Regions from separate parts of the Homo sapiens genome. Here regions 1, 2, 3, 4, 5 and 6 are each linked to region 7. The links are contacts of gene promoters, found by promoter capture Hi-C in blood cells and fetal thymus (Javierre and others, 2016). All regions are on one chromosome and are shown on one strand. Each heading gives the region's core, a stretch centred on a gene start or on the middle of the fragment in contact. The rest is flanking DNA. Distances are from core to core; before and after follow the strand shown. Region 1 overlaps HTRA2 (HtrA serine peptidase 2). Region 2 has its middle 2.1 kb from the start of PCGF1. Region 3 overlaps M1AP (meiosis 1 associated protein). Region 4 overlaps M1AP (meiosis 1 associated protein). Region 5 overlaps TTC31 (tetratricopeptide repeat domain 31). Region 6 overlaps LOXL3 (lysyl oxidase like 3). Region 7 holds the start of STAMBP (STAM binding protein).

What was found. The method cuts DNA at HindIII sites, captures the fragments that hold promoters and counts their contacts. A CHiCAGO score of 5 or more calls a contact.
Region 1: a contact is called between a fragment that was not itself captured here and the fragment with the promoter of STAMBP in region 7, in 10 of 17 cell types (fetal thymus, non-activated CD4 T cells, naive CD8 T cells and 7 more). The highest score is 21.1, in fetal thymus.
Region 2: a contact is called between a fragment that was not itself captured here and the fragment with the promoter of STAMBP in region 7, in 5 of 17 cell types (fetal thymus, naive CD8 T cells, total CD4 T cells and 2 more). The highest score is 9.2, in fetal thymus.
Region 3: a fragment that was not itself captured here is called in contact with the fragment with the promoter of STAMBP in region 7 in 1 of 17 cell types (naive B cells); the score reaches 6.1 in naive B cells.
Region 4: a fragment that was not itself captured here is called in contact with the fragment with the promoter of STAMBP in region 7 in 2 of 17 cell types (non-activated CD4 T cells and total B cells); the score reaches 5.5 in non-activated CD4 T cells.
Region 5: a fragment that was not itself captured here is called in contact with the fragment with the promoter of STAMBP in region 7 in 2 of 17 cell types (non-activated CD4 T cells and total CD8 T cells); the score reaches 6.1 in non-activated CD4 T cells.
Region 6: a fragment that was not itself captured here is called in contact with the fragment with the promoter of STAMBP in region 7 in 1 of 17 cell types (fetal thymus); the score reaches 7.5 in fetal thymus.

Annotation. Positions count from the first base shown.
Region 1 is chr2:74,531,128-74,533,836 of GRCh38, reverse strand. HTRA2 (HtrA serine peptidase 2) reads right to left here. Exons shown (of 8, transcript NM_013247.5): 4 at 2,466-2,498; 5 at 2,135-2,240; 6 at 1,912-1,981; 7 at 1,123-1,218; 8 at 518-1,017. The coding sequence ends at 852. It overlaps LOXL3 (lysyl oxidase like 3), which reads left to right. Exons shown (of 14, transcript NM_032603.5): 14 at 158-1,579. The coding sequence ends at 231. Among named protein-coding and RNA genes, the nearest start is that of HTRA2, 2.5 kb to the right of the region's middle. The HindIII fragment of the contact is 295 bases long and covers 1,188-1,482 here.
Region 2 is chr2:74,508,341-74,511,170 of GRCh38, reverse strand. No RefSeq gene overlaps it. Among named protein-coding and RNA genes, the nearest start is that of PCGF1, 2.1 kb to the right of the region's middle. RefSeq lists an enhancer at 2,667-2,726. The HindIII fragment of the contact is 467 bases long and covers 1,064-1,530 here.
Region 3 is chr2:74,589,736-74,592,478 of GRCh38, reverse strand. The region is part of intron 4 of M1AP (meiosis 1 associated protein); the gene reads left to right. Among named protein-coding and RNA genes, the nearest start is that of DOK1, 36 kb to the right of the region's middle. The HindIII fragment of the contact is 4,982 bases long and covers 1-2,743 here.
Region 4 is chr2:74,570,050-74,573,040 of GRCh38, reverse strand. All of the region lies in intron 7 of M1AP (meiosis 1 associated protein), which reads left to right. Among named protein-coding and RNA genes, the nearest start is that of DOK1, 17 kb to the right of the region's middle. RefSeq lists enhancers at 588-797, 1,795-1,894. The HindIII fragment of the contact is 5,991 bases long and covers 1-2,991 here.
Region 5 is chr2:74,489,190-74,492,210 of GRCh38, reverse strand. TTC31 (tetratricopeptide repeat domain 31) reads right to left here. Exons shown (of 13, transcript NM_022492.6): 3 at 2,084-2,186; 4 at 1,738-1,967; 5 at 1,472-1,555; 6 at 1,027-1,083; 7 at 836-916; 8 at 539-730; 9 at 156-207; 10 at 1-72. Among named protein-coding and RNA genes, the nearest start is that of TTC31, 7.6 kb to the right of the region's middle. The HindIII fragment of the contact is 4,043 bases long and covers 1-3,021 here.
Region 6 is chr2:74,550,734-74,553,684 of GRCh38, reverse strand. It overlaps LOXL3 (lysyl oxidase like 3), which reads left to right. Exons shown (of 14, transcript NM_032603.5): 2 at 1,039-1,363. The coding sequence starts at 1,051. It also overlaps a transcript of DOK1 not described here. Among named protein-coding and RNA genes, the nearest start is that of LOXL3, 1.7 kb to the left of the region's middle. RefSeq lists an enhancer at 349-643 and silencers at 349-643, 629-923. The HindIII fragment of the contact is 3,787 bases long and covers 1-2,951 here.
Region 7 is chr2:73,827,164-73,830,222 of GRCh38, reverse strand. STAMBP (STAM binding protein) reads right to left here and starts at 1,262. Exons shown (of 10, transcript NM_213622.4): 1 at 713-1,262. It overlaps LOC105374807 (a long non-coding RNA gene), which reads left to right. Exons shown (of 3, transcript XR_940246.3): 2 at 1,319-1,466. RefSeq lists a silencer at 1,273-1,491. The HindIII fragment of the contact is 5,447 bases long and covers 1-2,123 here.

The DNA of each region.
Region 1 (2,709 bases), core at 86-2,585, 700 kb before region 7:
GAAAGACGTTCATTCTCTTTTCCATAGCTTGTTTCTCCATCTTCCCACCTTCCTGTAGAGCTCTCAGTCCCTCCACTTCTACCCACCCTTCTCCACAGTGCATCTATCTCCCTCCCTCTGTGCAGGGCGCCTCCCAAATTGCCTGTCCACTCTGCAGGTGATGCCTTCAGTGAAGAGGCCAACAGGAGGTTTGAACGCTACCCTGGCCAGACCAGCAACCAGATTATCTAAGTGCCACTGCCCTCTGCAAACCACCACTGGCCCCTAATGGCAGGGGTCTGAGGCTGCCATTACCTCAGGAGCTTACCAAGAAACCCATGTCAGCAACCGCACTCATCAGACCATGCACTATGGATGTGGAACTGTCAAGCAGAAGTTTTCACCCTCCTTCAGAGGCCAGCTGTCAGTATCTGTAGCCAAGCATGGGAATCTTTGCTCCCAGGCCCAGCACCGAGCAGAACAGACCAGAGCCCACCACACCACAAAGAGCAGCACCTGACTAACTGCCCACAAAAGATGGCAGCAGCTCATTTTCTTTAATAGGAGGTCAGGATGGTCAGCTCCAGTATCTCCCCTAAGTTTAGGGGGATACAGCTTTACCTCTAGCCTTTTGGTGGGGGAAAAGATCCAGCCCTCCCACCTCATTTTTTACTATAATATGTTGCTAGGTATAATTTTATTTTATATAAAAAGTGTTTCTGTGATTCTTCAGAGCCCAGGAGTCAGTGCTGGTGGTTGGAGGGACCTGCCCCCACTGGTTCATTTAACCCTCTGTCTCGGTGCCCTCAGAACCTCAGCCAGAAAGGCAAGGAGGAAATCAGAGCAGGAGCCTCATACTCTTGGTGATCTATTCATTCTGTGACCTCAGGGGTCACATATAAGGTCAGTGTTTCTCGTCCCCGCCGGATCTGCACTGCCAACTGGGATTGGGTTCGAACAGCTTCATAAACATCTTCAGCATTTTGTACCATCTGCTCCCCAATGGCCAAAATCACATCACCAGGCCGCAGACCAGCCCTATAGAGAAAAATGGACAGAGAGAAAGGAAGGAGTACAAAGCCTAGTTCAAGGACACATGCACACCTTGCCCATCCCCATATCACACTGCAGCCTCTCCCTCACCGGTGTGCAGGGGAGCCCAGGATGACTTTATGGATGAGTACACCATGCTGAACATCGGGAAAGCTTGGTTCTCGAAGCTGTAGTTCAGCAAGGATGCTGAAAGTACACAGATCACCCTATTAGCCAAACCCAGGCATTCTCCCCATCCTGAGTTCCACCTCAAGTCTCTCATCAACACATTGATAAATATATGGACAGGACATGGGCTAGGTACTACAAAATACAATGGCAACTCACTTTCTGTCTTCTAGCAATAAAGTGCAACATGTACATAAAAGATGTACACCACATGAGGGCACCAAATGACAAACAGTGTTAAATCAATAGCACTAATGTCATTCTAGAATACTAAGAGAAGCTTTAAGGGGAAAGAACTTAAGTTGAGCCTAAAAGGATGGATCTGATATTAACCATATAAAACAAGAACAGCATAAATAAAAAACATGGGAGTAGGAAATCAGGTTGGCTGAGTATTCATATAGGAAGGTATTACAGCCAGGTCTAGAAAGTTGATTTACAGACAGATGGAAAATGGCCCTTAAATGCCAAGTTAATGGATTGAAGGCTTGAAATCAAAGCAGTAACAGGATGAAATCAATCTGGTGACAGGTGTACAAAGTGGAGTGGGATAAGAAAGTCAAGATGATGAAGGGAGACAGCTCTTGTGATTATTTCAAGTGTGACACAGTTCATCTTAGATAAAGACAGAAATGAGAACAAAGCTCAATAGAGGTGCCCCCCTCTGATTACACTGGTCACATTACATGTCACTGTCCCTAAAGCTCATACCTGGGACTCAGGGTCAGCATCATCACCCCAATGTAGCGCCGCTGGGACCCACTGATTCCGGAGGAGGAATCTGTGACAGAGGGACAAATGAGCCCCACCCAGCTACATCCTTCCTTCCCTGCCCTCTTCTCCCAGTAGACCACCCTCCAGGAAGTCCCACTGAATGCCCTTCCCCTATTTCCACCACATTAAAGGAACCCGTTTCCCCATAAGGCAGGCTCACTCTTCTTTTCCCCACGATGCAGAAACTCTCGAAGACGATCAGAAGGGATGGCAAAGGAGATTCCAGCTGTGACCTTCATGGTGTTCACTCCAATCACCTCCCCATCCTGCAGGGATACAGCCCCCAGTTCCCTAGCCTAAACAAATAGTAGGGGATGGGGGCACCCGAACAAAAGTACCAGCAAGTGTTGGGGAGATCTGGTTGGATATTGAGAGATAGCCAACAAAGAACTGCTCAGAAACTTGACCAAACATCCTTGAATTAGGGGAAACCTACCCTTCCCACACTGACCTGGGGCAGGGATTCTTGGAAGGAAGGATGTCTCACTCACCAGGTTAACCAGGGGACCTCCAGAGTTTCCAAACTGTAGGACAAGGAGAAAACATGAAAGAGATCTGGGGATTCTAAGTCTGGGGGCATACCAGGATGTAGGTACTTTCTCCAAATTCTCTTCTTTCTCAGCCCATGAATAAGTGGCCACATTTTTGCAGCCTAAGCTCTATATAGGCTCATCCACCATATATCAGTTGGTGCTTGTACCACACAGCCTCTCCCCCCTCCCCCATCATTTGTCA
Region 2 (2,830 bases), core at 48-2,547, 680 kb before region 7:
TGGATCACGAGGTCAGCAGATTGAGACCATCCTGGCTGACACGGTGAAACCCCGTGTCTACTAAAACTACAAAAAATTAGCCGGGCTTGGTGGCGGGCACCCGTAGTCCCAGCTACTCGGGATGCTGAGGCAGGAGAATGGCGTGAACCCGGGAGGCGGAGCTGGCAGTGAGCCGAGATCGCGCCACTGCACTCTAGCCTGGGTGACAAAGCGAGACTCCATCTCAAAAAAAAAAAAAAAAAAAAAAGACGAAGATAGAGGTGCTGGAATGAGTGCCCCCTCATACACACTGCTTTGGATCTGTCTCACCATGTCCTGTGTGTCCGTGGCTCTCATCAACTTAGTCTTTCCTACCCCTCAGCTGTCTCAGATCTTTATCATCTGGACAAAATCTTTGCCTGAGTCTTCAAGAGAGATCATGCTTTTCCTTTCCTTTTTACTTCATGCCTACTGCCTCCATTTCATCATGATTTATTCTTGTTTTAACTCAGTGCAAGCTGCCTTCATTATAGTAACCCTTTCTCAGAGAGCTCCAGTGTTCAGTATCCCTCCTCCAGGACTTCCCTGGCATGTTTTACTTTGTTGGTCATCAATTATTTTTTGAAGTGTCCCTTCTTTTTGCTTCTGTAATATCTTATTCCACATCTTTGGACTTTCGTAGTCACTGCTTATGTTTTTCCTCCACTGATTTTCCTTCTTCCACTGAAGACTGTGAGGATTCTTCAGAGCTCAGACTTAAGCTTTCTTTTTTCTTTTCTTTTTTTTTTTTTTTTAAGACATGGGATCTCACTCTGTCGCTCAGGCTGGAGTGCAGTAGCATTATCACGGTTCACTGCTGCCTCAACCTCCCAGGCTCGAGCAATCTTCCTAACTCAGCCTCCCAAGTAGCTGGGACTACAGGTATGCGCCACCATGCCAGGCTAATTTTTGTACTTTTTGTAGTGACGGAGTCCCACCATGTTGCCCAGGCTGGTCTCCAACTCCTGGGCTCAAGTATCCACCTGCCTCAGCCTCCCAAAGTGCTGGAATTACAGGCATTAGCCACTGCACCAGGCCTTAAGCTTTCTTTATCTCTTCATCTGCTCAAGTTTCACCCATTCCAAAAGTCCCAACTCTCATATCCAGCCAGATAACTCTGAGACCTCCATCCCTTGTTCTGACACTCCAGCCCCACCGCTCACTCTCCTAGCCTTCTGACAAGCTCCCCCTGCTTCCCTGCAGCCACCTTAAGTCCAGCAGGCTGGAGGACATGCTTCCCTCCAAAGCTCTTCATTCACCCTCTTACCCAGGCCTACCAAGCCAGGTTCCTGGCTACTTCCTCCTATTATACTTTCCTTTGAACTGTTTCAGATACAGCCCTTCCTTTCCATTGCCATTGCTAAAACCCTAATCGAGGCTGTCATCACCACCACTTGGATTCATTCATGTATTCATCCAGAAAAGTTTTATTGAACACCAACTATGCACCTGGCACTGGAGCTATATCTGTGAACACAACAGAGGAAAAAAAATCCTTGCCACTGAGAAGCTTATAGTCTAGTGGAAAAGGCAGATGAAAAACTAGGAAATATGTTTTCTAGAAAATATTTTCTGAAAATAACTAGAAAATATAATATATATTAGAAATGTATATTAAATAATAATAAATGATAGAATGCTAATAAGTGCTAACCAGAAAAAAAAGAGCAAGGAAGTGAAAGGGTGGGTGAGTTGTTATTCATCTAGAGTGATTACAGCAGCCTCATGAGTAAAGACCTGAAAGAAGGAGGGAGCCATTTTGGATACCTAAGCATTTCAAGTTGGGGACACAGTGGAAGGATATCCTGGTGTATCTGAAGAGACTATGCAGGCCCTTGCACACCACTCTGAGACTTTGACTTTCATTCTGATTGAAAAGGGAAGCTCTCAACAGGTTTTAAACGTAAAAAAGGAACAACCTAATTTTTCAACTTTATTTTTAATAGCTTTCTTGAAGTATAATGGACATATAAACTGCAAATATTTGAAGTGTACAATTTGATAAGTTTTGACATATGTATATACCCATGATACCATCATCACCATAAAAATAATAAACATATCCACATCTCAAAAATTGTCCTTTGTCCTTTGTGTTTCATGTTTTATCAGAATCACTAGCTCTGAGAAACAGCACTCAACTGTGATGTTGAGAACAGGCGAAGGGGGACTCAAGGAAAACAGTCAAGAGGCCACTACAGAGGACAGATGATAGTGGCTCGGACCAGGGAAGTAGGTAAACAGGGGCTGTAACGAATAATTGATTAATCACTAATCTCATAACTTCTTGCTGCATATTCACTTCAATTCACTCTGAAGAGAAATGAACAAAAATGTCGCTTTCACAGGATAACCTCCCTTCAAAAAAGTCCGCTAGCTCCCAATTGCCCTCAGGCTAAAAATCGCAACTCTTTATGGCCCTGCTTTTTCTATTACCACTCTCAAATCTACATCTTGACCTTCCTGTCCTCTGGTCATTCCCCTCCACGTCCTTTCTATTTCACCACACTTCCACCCCCTCCCCCAAGTCTAAATTGTGCCCAAAGTCCCACTTTCTCCAGAAAGCCTTTTTTGAGGTCTCCATTGGAATCTCTCCCTTCTCGTATCTCCAGTTGCATTTGATGTTAATACCTCATAGCAAATTTATCCCTTTTTAAGTACCCAGAGCCGGCGGTGTAGAGCTCTCGAGCGAGCACCCCGCGTAGTCCCCAAGTGCGGGACTGGGCCTATGCTACTACAGGCGCTCGCTGCCTAAGCCTGTCTGTGTGTGGCAGTGTCCTAGTCGTCCTCCCCTCCTCCTTCGGCATCTGCT
Region 3 (2,743 bases), core at 174-2,673, 760 kb before region 7:
AAAATGGAAAAAAGTCATAAACACATAATTCAAAAAAAGATTTTTAAATGGTCCTTAAACATGTGAAAATATGTTCAACCTCACCCATAATTAGAGAAATGATAATTAAGACTATACCAAAATATTATTTCCTACCTATTATTAGATTGGCAAAAGTTAAAAAGTATGACACCAATAGAAGTGGCATGTGTTTATTTTTAAACACAAAATTACCTATGTGTTTTACTTCTATCCCTAGAAGTCACCAGCCCCACTTCTAGGAATCTAATACCCTGAAGATACACCCCCAGATCTACAAAAATGCATGTATATACACAGAGTCGGTTGCAAAGCTATTATACAGTCTATCTAGGATTTTTTTAAGAATATGTCTTAGGTCTGGGCTCAGTGACTTATGCCTGTAATCCCAGCACTTTGGGAGGCCGAGGTGGGTGGATCACTTAGGTCAGTAGTTCGAGACCAGCCTGGCCAACATAGTGAAACCCCTTCTCTACTGAAAAAAAATAAAATAAAATAAAATAAAAAGTTAGCCAGGCGTGGTGGTGGGCGCCTGTAATCCCAGCTACTCAGAAGGCTGAGGCAGGACAATCACTTGAACCTGGGAGATGTAGGTTGCAGTGAGTTGAGATCACACCACTGCACTCCATCCTAGAGGACAGAGTGAGACTCTGTCTCAAAAAAATAAAAGAGTATGTCTTAGGACTTTCTTTGATTTGAGCGTCTTCTTTAGCTTTTCCTTACTCTACTTAGCTCCCCCAAGTAAGTCTTTTCTTTCATGGCTCCACTTACATTTATTTTCACCTCAAGGCAGCTCTTTCTTTCAGTTCCCTTAGGTGTAAGGAGTCAAAACTGCTTGGTGTGGTTCTTGGGTCATGTCAAAAGATTTAACGCCTTCCTAACTCTGCTTTCTTCTTAATTCAAACTTCTCCTAAATAACCCATTCCCCTGCTCCCTCCCCCACCACAGTGCCTATGACAATATTTCTTCCCAGCTTTTCAATTTTGCATTGCAATTTACATTAAATGCTTTTTGGTTTATAGAATATATGTATTAGTCCCTGTAGAAAAAGAAGACTTTTAAAATACCTTCTAAGTCTAATGTTTCTCACGTCAAAAAATACTTCAGACTTTGGAATATTTCAATCAATAGTGATCAATCTCTTTTGCATATAAGCTGCATTTTTCCAATAAAATGAAAATGAAGCCATTGAGACCCATAGATAAAATATATTTTCTTACAACTTAGATCTTTATTGAAGAGAAAATTTTCAGCAAAAGAAATGGCACTGGCTTTTAGTGAATAAAATGTTCATATCTACTACATAGACAGCTGGGAGGCGGCTTTATACTCTATCATCCCTTATAGTTGCATGGTGCTTTAAAGTCCACAAATTGCTTTCAGGAGTCAAGTGTCATTATTTCATTTTCAAGTAAACCCTTAGCCTAGGTATCACTATCATTCCCACTTTACAAATGGAGAAATTGAGCTTAAAGAGATGAAGTGACTGGCCTAAGGTCACAGAGAAAGTAAGCACCAGGCTGGCTAGTTTCTTCTGTTCAATATAACGTTTACTGAGCCCCTGTTGTATGTAAACACTGCGCTAGTGCTGTGGGTACAGAGGTAGATAAGGTGCTACAACTGGTGCCAGAGGCAGGTATACCCTGCCTTAACCAGGGCCCTTCTCTCCCGTACCTGCAATAACTTCTCTCTGGACTGTCTAGGGCAGAGCAAGTCACTCAGTTCAAAGTGGGATTGGCAATCCGGGAACACTTCCGTGGCTCCAGAGGTGAGGGGTGCAGTGCAGCTTCTCTCATAGGGCAGTCCCCACTTCTGCCCTCTTAGAAACACACAAGCCTAAGAAAAAGATTATAAAAAGGCTACTCTCCCAGCCAAAATAATTGCTCTCTAAACTTTTTCTTACCCAATTCATCTGTTTACTAAAGGCTGAAATACTACATTTGAAATTGTAGTATTTGGGACCTATCTTAGAGCTAAGGGAGTCTGCTATGGTCTGAATGTTGTATCCCGCCCCCGCCCCCCCTAAAATTCATCTTTGAAATCTAATCACCAAATAGATAGTATTAGGAGGTGGGGCCTTTGAATGGTGGATTAGGTCATGAGGGAGGGCAGAATCCTCCTGAATGGGATTAGTGCTTTTATAAAATGTTCCCTAAGGAGCTTGTCTGCCCCCTCCACCATATGAGGATACAGTGAGAAGGGGCCATTTATCAACCAAAAACAGGTCCTCCCCAGACATTGAATCTGCCAGCACCTTGATCTTGGACTTCCCAGCCTCCAAAACGGTGAGAAATATATTTCTGTTGCTTATAAGCCACTGGTTTGTGGTATTTTGTGATAGCAGCCCAAATAGAACCCACTATTCCCTAGTCAGAAATTATGTAAATCAAGTTTGTCCAACCTGCTTCCCGCAGGCTGCATGCAGCCCAGGACGGCTTTGAATGCAACCCAACAAAAATTCGTAAACTTTCTTAAAACATTATAAGATTTGTTTTTAAGCTCATCAGCTATCATCAGTGTTGATGCATTTTATGTGTGGCCCAAGACAATTCTTCCAATGTGGCCCAGGGAAGCCAAAAGATTGGACACCCATAATATAAATCATCCATTGTGAACCATTAGTTCTTTAGTTAACAGTCAATTATTTTTTTCAGCCTGCCTTAGACTATATTAGCTTGATGAGGGCAGGTGAATGGACAACTGCTAACAATAGAATTCCCTGGGT
Region 4 (2,991 bases), core at 108-2,607, 740 kb before region 7:
ATGGGAAAAAGTATTCCCTTCCATCCTGGCTTACATACACGAGATTAGAGTCTCCCTGCCACTAAACTCAGGGTTTGAGGATCTGTATTTATCTATCTGTCTATTTATTTATCAAATATTTACTCACCACTGTATGCCAAGCACTGTTGTAGAGATGAAGAGACCTTTTCTTTGTTAGTCTTCTGTCTTGGAAAAGGGCAGGGATGTAGTTGACCTGTCACTAGTAGATACCCATATTTTGGAGCATTTACTAAGTGGTAGTCACTTAACCAAGTGTTTTGCATACTTTACCTCATTTAATCCTCACAATAATCTGAAGTAGAGATTGTTATCCCAACTTTTGCAGATGGAGGAGGCTGAGGCCTAAAAAGACCAAGTAAGTTACCTAAGGTCACACAGCTACCAAAGTAGTCTTGTCAGAGTTTGAGGACCTAGCTCACACATGTAATCCCAACACTTTAGGAGGCCAAGGCAGAAGGATCACTTGTGCCCAGGAATTCAAGACTAGCCTGAGAAACAGAGTGAGACCCTGTCTCTATTAAAAATTAAGAAATTAGCCAGGAGCAATGACTCACACCTGTAGTCCCAGCTACTCGGGAGTCTGAGGTGGAAGGCTTGCCTGAGCCCAGGAGTTCAAGGCTGCAGTGACCCATGATCGCACCACTGCACTCTGGGCGACAGAGGGAGACACTGCTTAGGGGGGGTGGGAAAGAAAGAAAATTTAAAAAGAATTTGAACCTAGTTCTGTTGACTACAAAGCCCATGTTTTTAACTTCTTTGCTAAATTCCCTACTCTGGATGTAGCCAGATAAATACAGACTATAACACTGAAGCTAATTCTCCTTCACTTACACCCTATGCTTCTGTACTTCAGCGGAGTTGAACTCACTTAAAATGGCACAGTACTCATAACAACGGCTTACTCATCTTGTACTGCTGTTCTCTTTACTCCGTTTGGTCCACCTCATCTAGATTAAAGACCACTCTCCTATTCTGGAAAAGACAGCAGCAAAACAGTTTTCTTTCTTTTTTTTTTTTTTTTTGAGACGGAGTTTCGCTCTTGTTGCCCAGGCCTGGAGTGCAATGGCACAATCTTGGCTCATCACAACCTCCACCTCCTGGGTTCAAACAATTTTCCTGCCTCAGCCTCCCGAGTAGCTGGGATTACAGGCATGCACCACCACATCTGGCTAATTTTTTATTTTTAGTAGAGACGGGGTTTCTCCATGTTGGTCAGGCTGGTCGCAAACTCCCAACCTCAGTTGATCTGCCCACCTCAGCCTCCCAAAGTGTTGGGATTACAGGTGTGAGCCACCGTGCCTGGCCGCAAAACAGTGTTTAAATGCCTCTTCCTTCTTGTTTTTCACATGACATTTTCTCCAAGCAGCAAAAATCCTGAATGGCAGTATGTTATAGAGTACAAACTTTTCACAAACTTCAGCTCATTAATTCAACACAAATATTTTTAAGTGTGACGAGACTTATTTAGGGTTTTAACCTCCTAAGCCTATTTTTACAAGTTTGCCATGCTTCTTTAACTCCATCTTTGGTTTTTTATTCTTTCATATACCTTTTTCATATGTTCTTTTAAAATCTGATTTCAAGTCAGCTCCATATTTAACTCTCTTGCCTTCTGTTTTTCACTGTAATGTTCCCCTCCAGCCAACTTCTCATTCTAACTTCTGCCTTTCTGTTAATAGCAGCACCGCCATTGTCTAGTCACCCAGGCTTGAAACCTCAGTCACTTTCAGCCATCTCACCCTTTACACCTACTCCATCACTAAGTCATATCAATTTTCCACTCATAACATGAGTTGTAACTCTCCTTTACTTCCTGTTCCCACTGCTTGTCTCACCAAGACTTCTTCAGTAAACTCCTAACTGGCTTCCCTGCCTCCAATCTCTCTCTCTTCTGGTTTTCCCTGCACATTGGCACTAGCTTAATCTCCTTGAAGCATTCCCCTATCACATGTTTTTCTATGTATCAATACTCAATCACGTATTACACCTTGCCTATTCTATCCCTATAGCATCTGTTATCACTATCCTAATTCAAGCCCTTTTAACCTTTCCTTTAATACTGCAATAATCTCTCAACTTGTCTCAATGCTTTTTTAGTGCTTCCCATTCCTAGTCCATTTCACATAATGCCAACAGATTAATCTTTTGATTAATCTGATTCAGCACTGATTCTGCCACTACTCAGCTGAAAAATACTTTGTGGCTTACTATTGTTTATCCATAAAGTCCATATTCCTTAGCCTAATATTCAAGGTCCCACCTTATCTCCCATTATTCCCCTTCATGTACCATACACTCCAACCAAATTAATACAGAAACCTTAAATTTTTCCACCTTTGAGCCTTTGCTCATGTTGACCTTTCTCTCATCTCTGTGTGTTCAAATCCTACCCTATCCTGAAAGACCAAACTCAAATGGTACTTCTTGAATGGGAGCTCTCTAGTTTCTTCCACTTGTCATTAGACATTTGTATGCTGTTTCTTTTTGGAGAAAAACATATTTCAAATAGGTTTTTAAATATAGGATCCTATGTTTGAGATTAAAGTCTCAGATATAATTTGACTACCCAAACTCCAGATTGACATAGTGCCTTTTCTATCGCTTCCCCACTTTACTAACCAATTCCTAGGCTTTGGTCAAATTTAGGCCCAGAATAGAAATTCCCCCCTTTCTTACTTCTCTTTTTGGAGGAGTCAAGGCAAGGCAGTTTTCTAATATGTTGTAGTAAAATATAATTTGTGTTGTCCAGGAAAATCCTGGACTGTGGAATCAGACGGCCTTAGGTTCCTGACGCTTTTTTTATTTCCCGACTGTGTGAACTTAGGCAACTTGCTTACCCTCACTAAGTATTGGTGTATTCATCTATTTGTAACCCTAACAAATTTAATGGCCCCTACGTGGCTTAGTCTCTGCACAAATGGCATATATGGAAGCACTATCAGAGGCCCAAAAGTAAATTTTAAAGTGATT
Region 5 (3,021 bases), core at 459-2,958, 660 kb before region 7:
GCTTCAAGGCCTGGGTGAAGAGGACCACGGCCTCATGGTAGAAACCATTTTGAGCAAAGCTGGTACCCAACTCTGGAAAGGAAAGAGGGTGAGAAGGTTCAGATGGGGCTACCCCAGGGAGGGTGGGGTGAGGACGGAGAGAGAAAGGATCTCACTTGCCAGTTCCTGGCTCTGTTGTAAGGCAGCTGCCAGCAGTCCCGGAGATGCCTGGGGATAGGGTGCAAAGTCAAGCAGGTCTTGAGGTCTCAGCCTCCCCAAATCCTTCTCCTTTGTTTAAACAGGTAACACTGCAATTAGCATTACCCAACTCATGTAATCCTCATGACAGCCCTACAAGATGGTATCAGCCCTATCTTCCTAGACAGGAAACCACCCGGGGTCATGGTGACAGTGATGGGGCCTGACTGTAGGTCTCTTGACCCTAGAGCCAGAGAACTCCCACTGGACCCTGTGTCAATCCTTAGACCCTGTGCCTCCCCAGCAGCTCCTTGTGCCCCTTCCACGGTTCCAGCTGAATAAGGTTCTTCAGCCACCTCACCTGTACCTTTGGACTCTGCTGGGGCCTCTCCTCTCTTGGAGGGCTCTCTTCCTCTTGACCCATCTTCTGGAGGGCCAGACCCCTGCCTTGGGGCTCCTGGTTCAGTCCCTTCTCTCTGCGGGCACTGAGGGGCCAATCCCCAACCTTGCGCAAAGCCAGAGACACAAAAGTGCTAGATAGATCCAGTGAGTCCTGTGAACAAAATGGAAAGTTAGGGAGGGGGTGGGGATGAAGTACATTCTGGAGGAGGAGGAGGAAAATGAGCAGAGACCAAGAAGGGAAAAAAGGGGCTCTCACCTCTTCTTCACCACACTGTCCCTGAACTGGGTTTCCAGGGCTGGATGGGGGGCTCTCATCTCCATCTGAGGTAGTGCTGGCCTGGAAGAAAGATAGACAGGTACAGAGTTGGGATCACCTTGAGCTGCCTGCTTTCTTGGCCCTCACCTTCCTGGCACTTGGTGCTCTTAGTACCTGCCCTAGATACTCACCTTGGGCTCCCCACAGTACTGCTCCAAACGCTCCTGTCGCTTCCGTTCCTTTTGACGCTGCAATAGTAATGGTAACAATGATGTATTTTGAACACTTACTGTATGTCGTGTGCTGGGCTAAGATTTCGCATTCCATCTTTGCAGCTCTATGAGACAGGCATCATTATTATCCTCATTTTGCAGGTGAAAAAGCAGACAAGAGAGGCACCAGCAAGAGGCCTCATGTAAGGAGGCAGATTCCTACCTAGGCAGCACAGTAGGATTCCAGAACCACTGCACCAGATGGCCTGTGAGAGACCCCCCAGTCCCTGGGCCCCTTGTGTCCTCCTGGCAAGAGAGTCCACTGCAGGCCATCTTGAGCTCTCTCCTGTTCCCACAAAGTTTCCTCTTTCCCTCTCCCAAATCCCTTTGGCTCCCCTGCACCCTCCAGCCATGCTCTAGCCACCTTCTTCTTGAGTCGCTTTTTCTCTGCTTTCTGTTTCATGCGCTCCTCCTCAGCCACCAGCTCCTCAGCCAGGCGATTGGCTTCCTGAAGGACGAAGGGCAGGTGACAGAAAAAGAGAGAAACAGGGAAATGGAGAGCAAACATGAAAGGGGGCAGGCAGTATAGAAGGATCTTGAAAGGTACCAATTAGGGGAGAATATAGGGATGGGGATACAGGGATTGAAAGAACCCTGGGGGACGGCAAAGCCCTCTCCTGAGAATCTCACCTCTTCTGTCACCAGGAGCTTCTGGGGCATGGCCACCTGAAGCAGGCTGTCTGAGACACTGGGGAAGGTGGCAGAGGCAGAGGGGCTTTGAGGGCAGGGCTCAGACTCTTGGGGAGGATACAGGAAGGACTTGCGGAGACCACAGTAGGTGCCCAGTCCCTCAGCCCCCTTGCCCCTGTCACTCTGTCCAGTTGATTTCCCTTCATCATCCAAGTGGCCCAGGAGGTAATCTGTCAGGAGGGAGAAAGAGACAGGAAAGAAAGGACATGAGAGCGGGGTGCATCTGAGGGTCAGCCCTCCCAGGGTACCAGCCTCGATCCCTGGGCCCGGTCCCTGCACTCCCCACCATGGTGCCACAGCTGCAGCCGCCCGCTGCTCCCATCCACATGGATCCGGTGCAGGCCCTGGGGATCACTCTCCACAAGCCGTCGAAGAAAATCCACTATGTCCTGGGAGGGGAGGGGAGGGGAGGGGAGGCTGGTGTTGGGGGCAGTTCCTGGAGAGAGCAAGGGCTTCGCTGGCTTGATCTCTCCACCATGGCAGCCACCAACCAGCTATCCAGCCCAGAGACTCTCACTGGCTCTGACCTCTCCCTCCTCAGCACCGCAAAATCTGCTGCCCCCAGCTATTGTAGTGAATCACCTCCCCTCGCTGCTTTCCTGCCTTCCCAAGGGTTGAGTATGGTATTCAACCTGGCCTCCTCTACCATCCAGGATCTTCTCTCCTCAACCTGAGTTAGCCACACTGAGGCCCCTGGAATGAAGCCCTCCCACCTGCTCTTCCAGCTAGGCCCCCTGTCATATCTGCAGTATGAACAGCTCCACATAACCCACCCTGAGGCTAGCTCACACCTAAACAAGTACAGCAGCTCCTGGCTGGCCGCTCCTCTGCACCTCATCTGTTTCTCCACAAAACTAAGCTCTAAGAAATTACTTCCCTACTCAGGGACATCCAATAATCCCCCACTGCCAAGGCCATAGGCAGAGTTGAACCTAATTCCTCAGCCTACGATTCAGAGCCTTCCAAAAGGCTCCCAGGCTGACCTTTCCAGCCCTCCTTTTAATCCTCCCCTGCTTCACTGCTGTCCTCCCTCCCACCACCAGGCTCCCTCCAGCCTTGGGGCCTTCCCCCAGCTGCTCTCCAATCCCTCCTAACTCTTGAGCTTCTTTCTCACATCTTGCCTCACCTTCAAGGTCCAGTTCAAATTCTATCTCCCTTCAAAGCCTTCCCAGACCCTTTCATCTCCAATTATCTCTGCCTCCTCCAACTAACCTGCAACCACAT
Region 6 (2,951 bases), core at 165-2,664, 720 kb before region 7:
TCGAACAGGGCCGCCAGGAGCGCCCTAAGGGAGGGGGCTCCTCCGGGAGGCGCTGCCCCTGGGTCCCCAACCCAGAACAAAGCTGCCTTGTTGGATTGATTGTTTGGGTTGGGGGAAGCATGTTGACGGGGGCTTGCTGTAGAGGGGCTGTTCTCAGCCCTAGGCAGAGAAGGCCTTGGCTGAGGAGCCATAGCGCCTGGCCTCCCGTTGCCCGGTGACAGGGATGGTGGTGTTGGCAGGAGGCTGGGACAACCCTACCCCATCCCCCGCCCAGCCTTGAGGCCTGGCCCTCCTGGGCCTCTTGACCCTGCAGGGCATCTGAGAGCCTGCGTGTTGGGGAGGGCGTGCAGCAGGTTCTCCAGGCGAGCTTTGGTGCCAGCCTTCCCTGCCTGGGAATCTGCTGGGTTAGGACTCTGGGCTCCCATTCAGGGGATCTGTGATCCCAGGGCCGCCTAGGGCCCCTTACGTGCCTCTCTGCACAATCAGTACAGCTGTCTGTCCTCCCTCTGAGTAAATGGGGTCATCTGGATCCCTCCCACGTCCGCCCCTTGGCTCTTGTCAATCCCTCTCCTTCTCACCCGCGGTGTGCTTGGTTCCCCTATACTGAGTGCTTAGTTCTTTGCCTATCACTTTCTATCCGTTGTCTCTCTCCTCTGTGTCTTTCTGGTTTTCTCTCTCTCATTCCCACAGTCTCCCTTCCTCTCACATCCTGTCTGTCTGGGTCTTCCTCTCTCTCTACGTGTCTCTTGCTCAGTCTCTATCTCTTTTTATTGACCCTTCTCTGACTCTCGATCTCTCATAGTTGTCTCTTATCTCTGGGTCTCTCAGGCTGTGCCTCTATGACCTGTGCCTCAGCCCTTATTTAATGTGTTTCTCTCCCTGTCTCTTGGTCCCTGGGGCTCTTTCTCTCCTGTTGTCTCTCGCTGTCTCTGTCTTACTCAGTGTCTGTTTTTCTTTCGTGACTTCTCCCTCTCTTTCTGACTCTGGGCCCCACTCAATCTGTTTCTCTCACGCACACTTTGTCTCTGGGGCACCCAGGCCTTCCCTGCCATGCGACCTGTCAGTGTCTGGCAGTGGAGCCCCTGGGGGCTGCTGCTGTGCCTGCTGTGCAGTTCGTGCTTGGGGTCTCCGTCCCCTTCCACGGGCCCTGAGAAGAAGGCCGGGAGCCAGGGGCTTCGGTTCCGGCTGGCTGGCTTCCCCAGGAAGCCCTACGAGGGCCGCGTGGAGATACAGCGAGCTGGTGAATGGGGCACCATCTGCGATGATGACTTCACGCTGCAGGCTGCCCACATCCTCTGCCGGGAGCTGGGCTTCACAGAGGCCACAGGCTGGACCCACAGTGCCAAATATGGCCCTGGAACAGGTGAGCAATGATCCAGGCATATCCTAGATATTTCCTATGTGTGGCCAAAGTGCAGGGAAAGGGAACACGAGGATGGCACAGCCATAGGGACACACGACACCAAGAACAGCCAGCATTGAGTAAATCCATGGATGACAAACCAAGCAACATAGTTACTTCCCAGAGCTGTGTGACCTTAGGCTAGTCAGTGCTTTCTCTGAGCCTCAGATGCCCTGTATGCAAAATGACTAGATGATGTCTAAGTTCTTTTCTGCTGCAAAAGTATGATCCTACAAAGCCATCCACAAAACAGCCCAGATACAGGTGAGCCCTGTACAAATAAAGTACAGTTAGTCTCATGGGACGCTAAGAGCAGGTAAATGATATCTGGATGTCCCAAAGTCACAAGGGGTCACAGACACTGCAGCTAACAAAATCAGGTTATGGGCCAGAGCTAAAACTAACAAGGTGGTACTGTCTAAGGACAAGTATAAAATCTAGGACAAGTATGAGTGTGGGTGGTGGAGGCTTAAGAGCAGTTCCCTAGGTGAGGCCTAGGACTGTGCCCATGGTATGAACCCACAGTGGGAATGATGGACAGAAGCAGGTGCAACCTGCAGCTGATTCCCCAGTTCCCACTGGCTAGACCACCTGTGGAATTAAGTGTCATTTGTAGATGCTGTGTTTTAAGAGGGACAGTAGAAAATGGAAATACTTTCAGAGGAGAGCTGCCTAGATGTGAAAGATTCAGAAGCCAAGTTTCAAGGAGGAATTGCTGAAGAATCAGGGGATTGATATGGAAAGTAAAAACCTTGCATAGCAATGGCGTAATGGTTGTTTTTAAATATGGGAAGGACAGTCGTGTGGCTGAAGGATTTTTCTGGTTGGCACCAAAGGAATGAATCAGATGTGGTAGGGGAAAGTCATGAAGAGTCACAAGGACTTTGATGGTTACACAGTCTGGTGGGGCAGGAGCTAGGTGTCTCCGCAACAACTGGGTAAGTCCTGTTGGGATGTGAATGAGATGTCCTTGAACATTGGCTAGGACAGATGACCTTTGAGGCTGCGCCCAATTCTGAGAGGAAGCCAGTGATACTCCACAGGGTTCAGGCCGGGCTCAGTGGCTCACGCCTATAATCCCAGCACTTTGGGAGGCTGAGGTGGGTGGATCACCTGAGGTCAGGAGTTCGAGACCAGCCTGGCCAACATGGTTGAAACCCTGTCTCTACTACAAATACAAAAATTAGCCAGGTATGGTGGCACATGCTTGTAGCCCCAGCTACTTGGGAGGCTAAGGCAGGAGAATTGCTTGAACCTGGGAGACAGAGGTTGCAGTGAGCTGAGATCATGCCACTGCATTTCAGCCTAGGCAACAGGGCAAGACTTCGTTTCAAAAAAAAAAAAAAAACAGGTTTCAGACAGAGAGAAGAACAAGGGGCTATATGGCAGCACAGACAGGGCGGGCACAAGAGAGAATGCAAGGATGTGAAGAAAGGATCTTAGACATCCAAGCCTCACAGATAGATCAAACTCCTAAGCCCCCACGTATTGGCTTTATGGTCTTAAGCAAGTTGCTCAGCTTCTCTAAACCCCAGTTTCTTTATATAAA
Region 7 (3,059 bases), core at 13-2,512:
CATTATCATGGCAAGAGACTTAAATCTTGAAAACAACCATTTACTCATCTTCATAGACTAAACACTGAATAACAAAAAGGCACGATGGTAACTTGCATTGCAAAAACCCCTGGTGTCCCAAAACTCCAGTAATTCTAGTCTTTCTAGATATAGTTGCTGTTAGAATCAGATTCCAAATTCCAACCAGATATCACCACTATCATCTCCAAAATAAAACTGGGCATTTGACACACATTGCATTACAGCAAACCCTAATCAGTATGCTCTAGAATACACAAACTACAGTAGAATAAATCTTGGAATTCAAGGCCCTGTGGCAACTGGCCCTCCCCAACAGAGATCTTTTGCTTCAGTCAGGATTCCAATCCGCCCAGGCATCCTCACATTTCAGTTTCATTTATCTATCCAGTTTTTCTTTTCTACTACAACTCTTCCCTCAGGGGTAGTCTTCTCTCAGCCAATTCCATCTTTAGGTCTCTTCAATATTCGGGTCACAATTCCTCCACAAACCTTCCCCTCTAAAACACCCTCACTAATAGCACAAAAGCCGTGAGGACTACTAGGGATGCAGAGATAGTCCATCTCTCACGAGGCCTCCTTAGGGACTCAGAAAGCCGCAAGCATATCTAAAACCTCCCCAAGTAATTAGTAAACCTAGTCCACGGCCCATGAAAGTTAACTGAAACAGAGGATGCTTGTTGCATCTCAGTACCTCTTGGGAGAGGTTCTTGTGGGTTAAGAAAGGAACCACCTCCCAAGGCCAGGAAGCGGCGCCGGTTACCACCTGGTTGAGCAATTCCAAAAAGGGGATGCAGCATCTGCAAATGAGGGGGAAAGGCGGCGTAAAGGACCGAGGGGGAAATACGAGGAGGAGAAAGGAAGTAGCAGGAATGAGCGGAGGGGGCGTATACAGTAGGGAGGGCTCTATCGACAACTGCTTGAGGAACCCTTCTTGAAGGCACTCAAGACGAACTTGCCAACCCCAGGCACAATCATCCAGGGTTTTCGGGATCTTTCAAATGCAGTAGGCGGGGAACCGCTGGGCCTGGCTGGTCAGGCGCCAGCCCGCGGAGACAGAAGCCGTCGGGTGCCTCGAGCGAGGCAGGCCGGGCAGGGGACTCGGGGAGAGTAGGCTGCAGGCCCCACACTCACGGCGGCCGATCCCCTTCAAAGTCCAACCACGCTCGGAGGCCCTGCCCCACCACGTTCCCGGGACCCTTCCCCACCTTTCCCCGCGGATGACACCCGGAGGTTCCGGAAACGTCACATCCGGCGCCCGCTCCGCCCACTCCCGTTCGTCTGTCTATTACATTCCCAGTGATTTAGGACTTGGAACGGAGAGCTAGTAGGTGGGGCTAGAATCGGCACCTGCGGAAAATCCGACCAATGAGGAGCGAACGACACAGCGGCCATCTTGGTAAAGGAAAAGGAACAAGGAAGAAAGTGGAACCAATTAGCAAGCTAAGGTTTGCTTTTAAAATTATTTTGATTTGGGGTAGTCCCTCATCACACTCACAATACTCCTGCATTTAAGGAGGGATTGCTGATCCCAGCACAACTGCAGACTTAGCTAAACTAACCAGGATTTATAAATTGGGGGACAGAAAGTCTTTCGAATGTATTTTTTAGCTTGTATTACATTCTACACAAAAATTGGTAGTCTTAGATATTAGGCAATATCTAAGACTAATTTTATTGCTTAGAAAAGAACATAAGTCTAACTTTTTTTTTTTTTAAGACAGGGTCTTGCGGTGTCACCCAGGCTGTCACAGGAGTGCAGTGGTGTGATCATAGCTCACTGTGGTCTCCAACTTCAGGGCTCAAGCGATCTTCTTGCCTCTGCCTCCCAAAGTACTGGGATTACTGGCGTGTGCCACCGCACCCAGATGAGACTAACGTTTTAATGTCAAAAAACCTATAAAATATTTGGAAAAAAAGCGTTTAATCTCTAAGAGCCGCTATGCAAAAGCAGTGGAGACACAAAAATCTGTATGACACTGTTCCTGCCCTGAGACCGGGACAAGGTGGTTTTATGCATCAAATACAGAATGGCACGTTCTGCATGTAGATGTGTGTCTGTACGAATCCATATACATCCTCTTTACAAAAAGGTCCTACAAGCTTGCTAATCATTCTGTCTCAGAAGACTTTGTGAAACATTAGGCTTTGGTTTAAAAGTCTAAGTCTCTGGGGGACACTTTCCCAAAATTTGGGAGCCTCCCTGTGAGTTTGTTAGTGTGATGGCATGACCTATTCTTCAAGGTCTAGCTTAAATCCCTAATTCAGGTGTTGCCTCCTCCACCTAGCCAGCCTCCAGATCTCTCATTTCTCCCAACCTCCGTTGTGTATATTTCTGTTGGAGTTACCTGAAGTGATTTTGTGTAGTCATCAACTTTTCAGACTTAGGGTTGAAAGTACTTGCTTGCATCATATCACCTCCCCTTCTGCCCCCAGCAAGCATTAATGTGCATGGGTCTACTATCAACTCTCATGGATCTACTGCAGATAAATCTGGGAAGATAATTGTATAGGGCACTCTACTGTGTCTTCAAAACTCTCTCTACTGACTCTCTTCAGAATGTAAACATGATGGGTTGGGCCTAAAGAAATTGATGCACTGGAGATGCTGGTCATTGGGTGGGCATTATAGTGCAGATGGGGTCCTGGCAGGAGGCAACACAGGTCAAAATCTGATCCATTCAACCTCTCACTCAGTAAATGTTTACTGAGTGTCTACTATGTGCCAGGTTCTGTTCTAGGTGTTAGGGATACATCAGCAAACAAACCCAGCAGGTGGATACTCTAATGGTGGAAGCACAGGTAGAAGTACAGCTGGTGGGGTAGGGAGGGGCATCTGCTCCCATTCAGCACAATCTCTAAAGTAGTTCTTTTTTTTATAATGTTTAGCTTAACAAGTAAAGAAAATTTACAAACATCCTAGATTTTAAGATTATGATGAGAAGACTTTAAGAAGCTATAACTGAGACACACATATAAGGGGTGTGCATAGTCGTAAACATAGCTAGCGCCACATAGAGGCTGTTCCTGATATTAGAAAG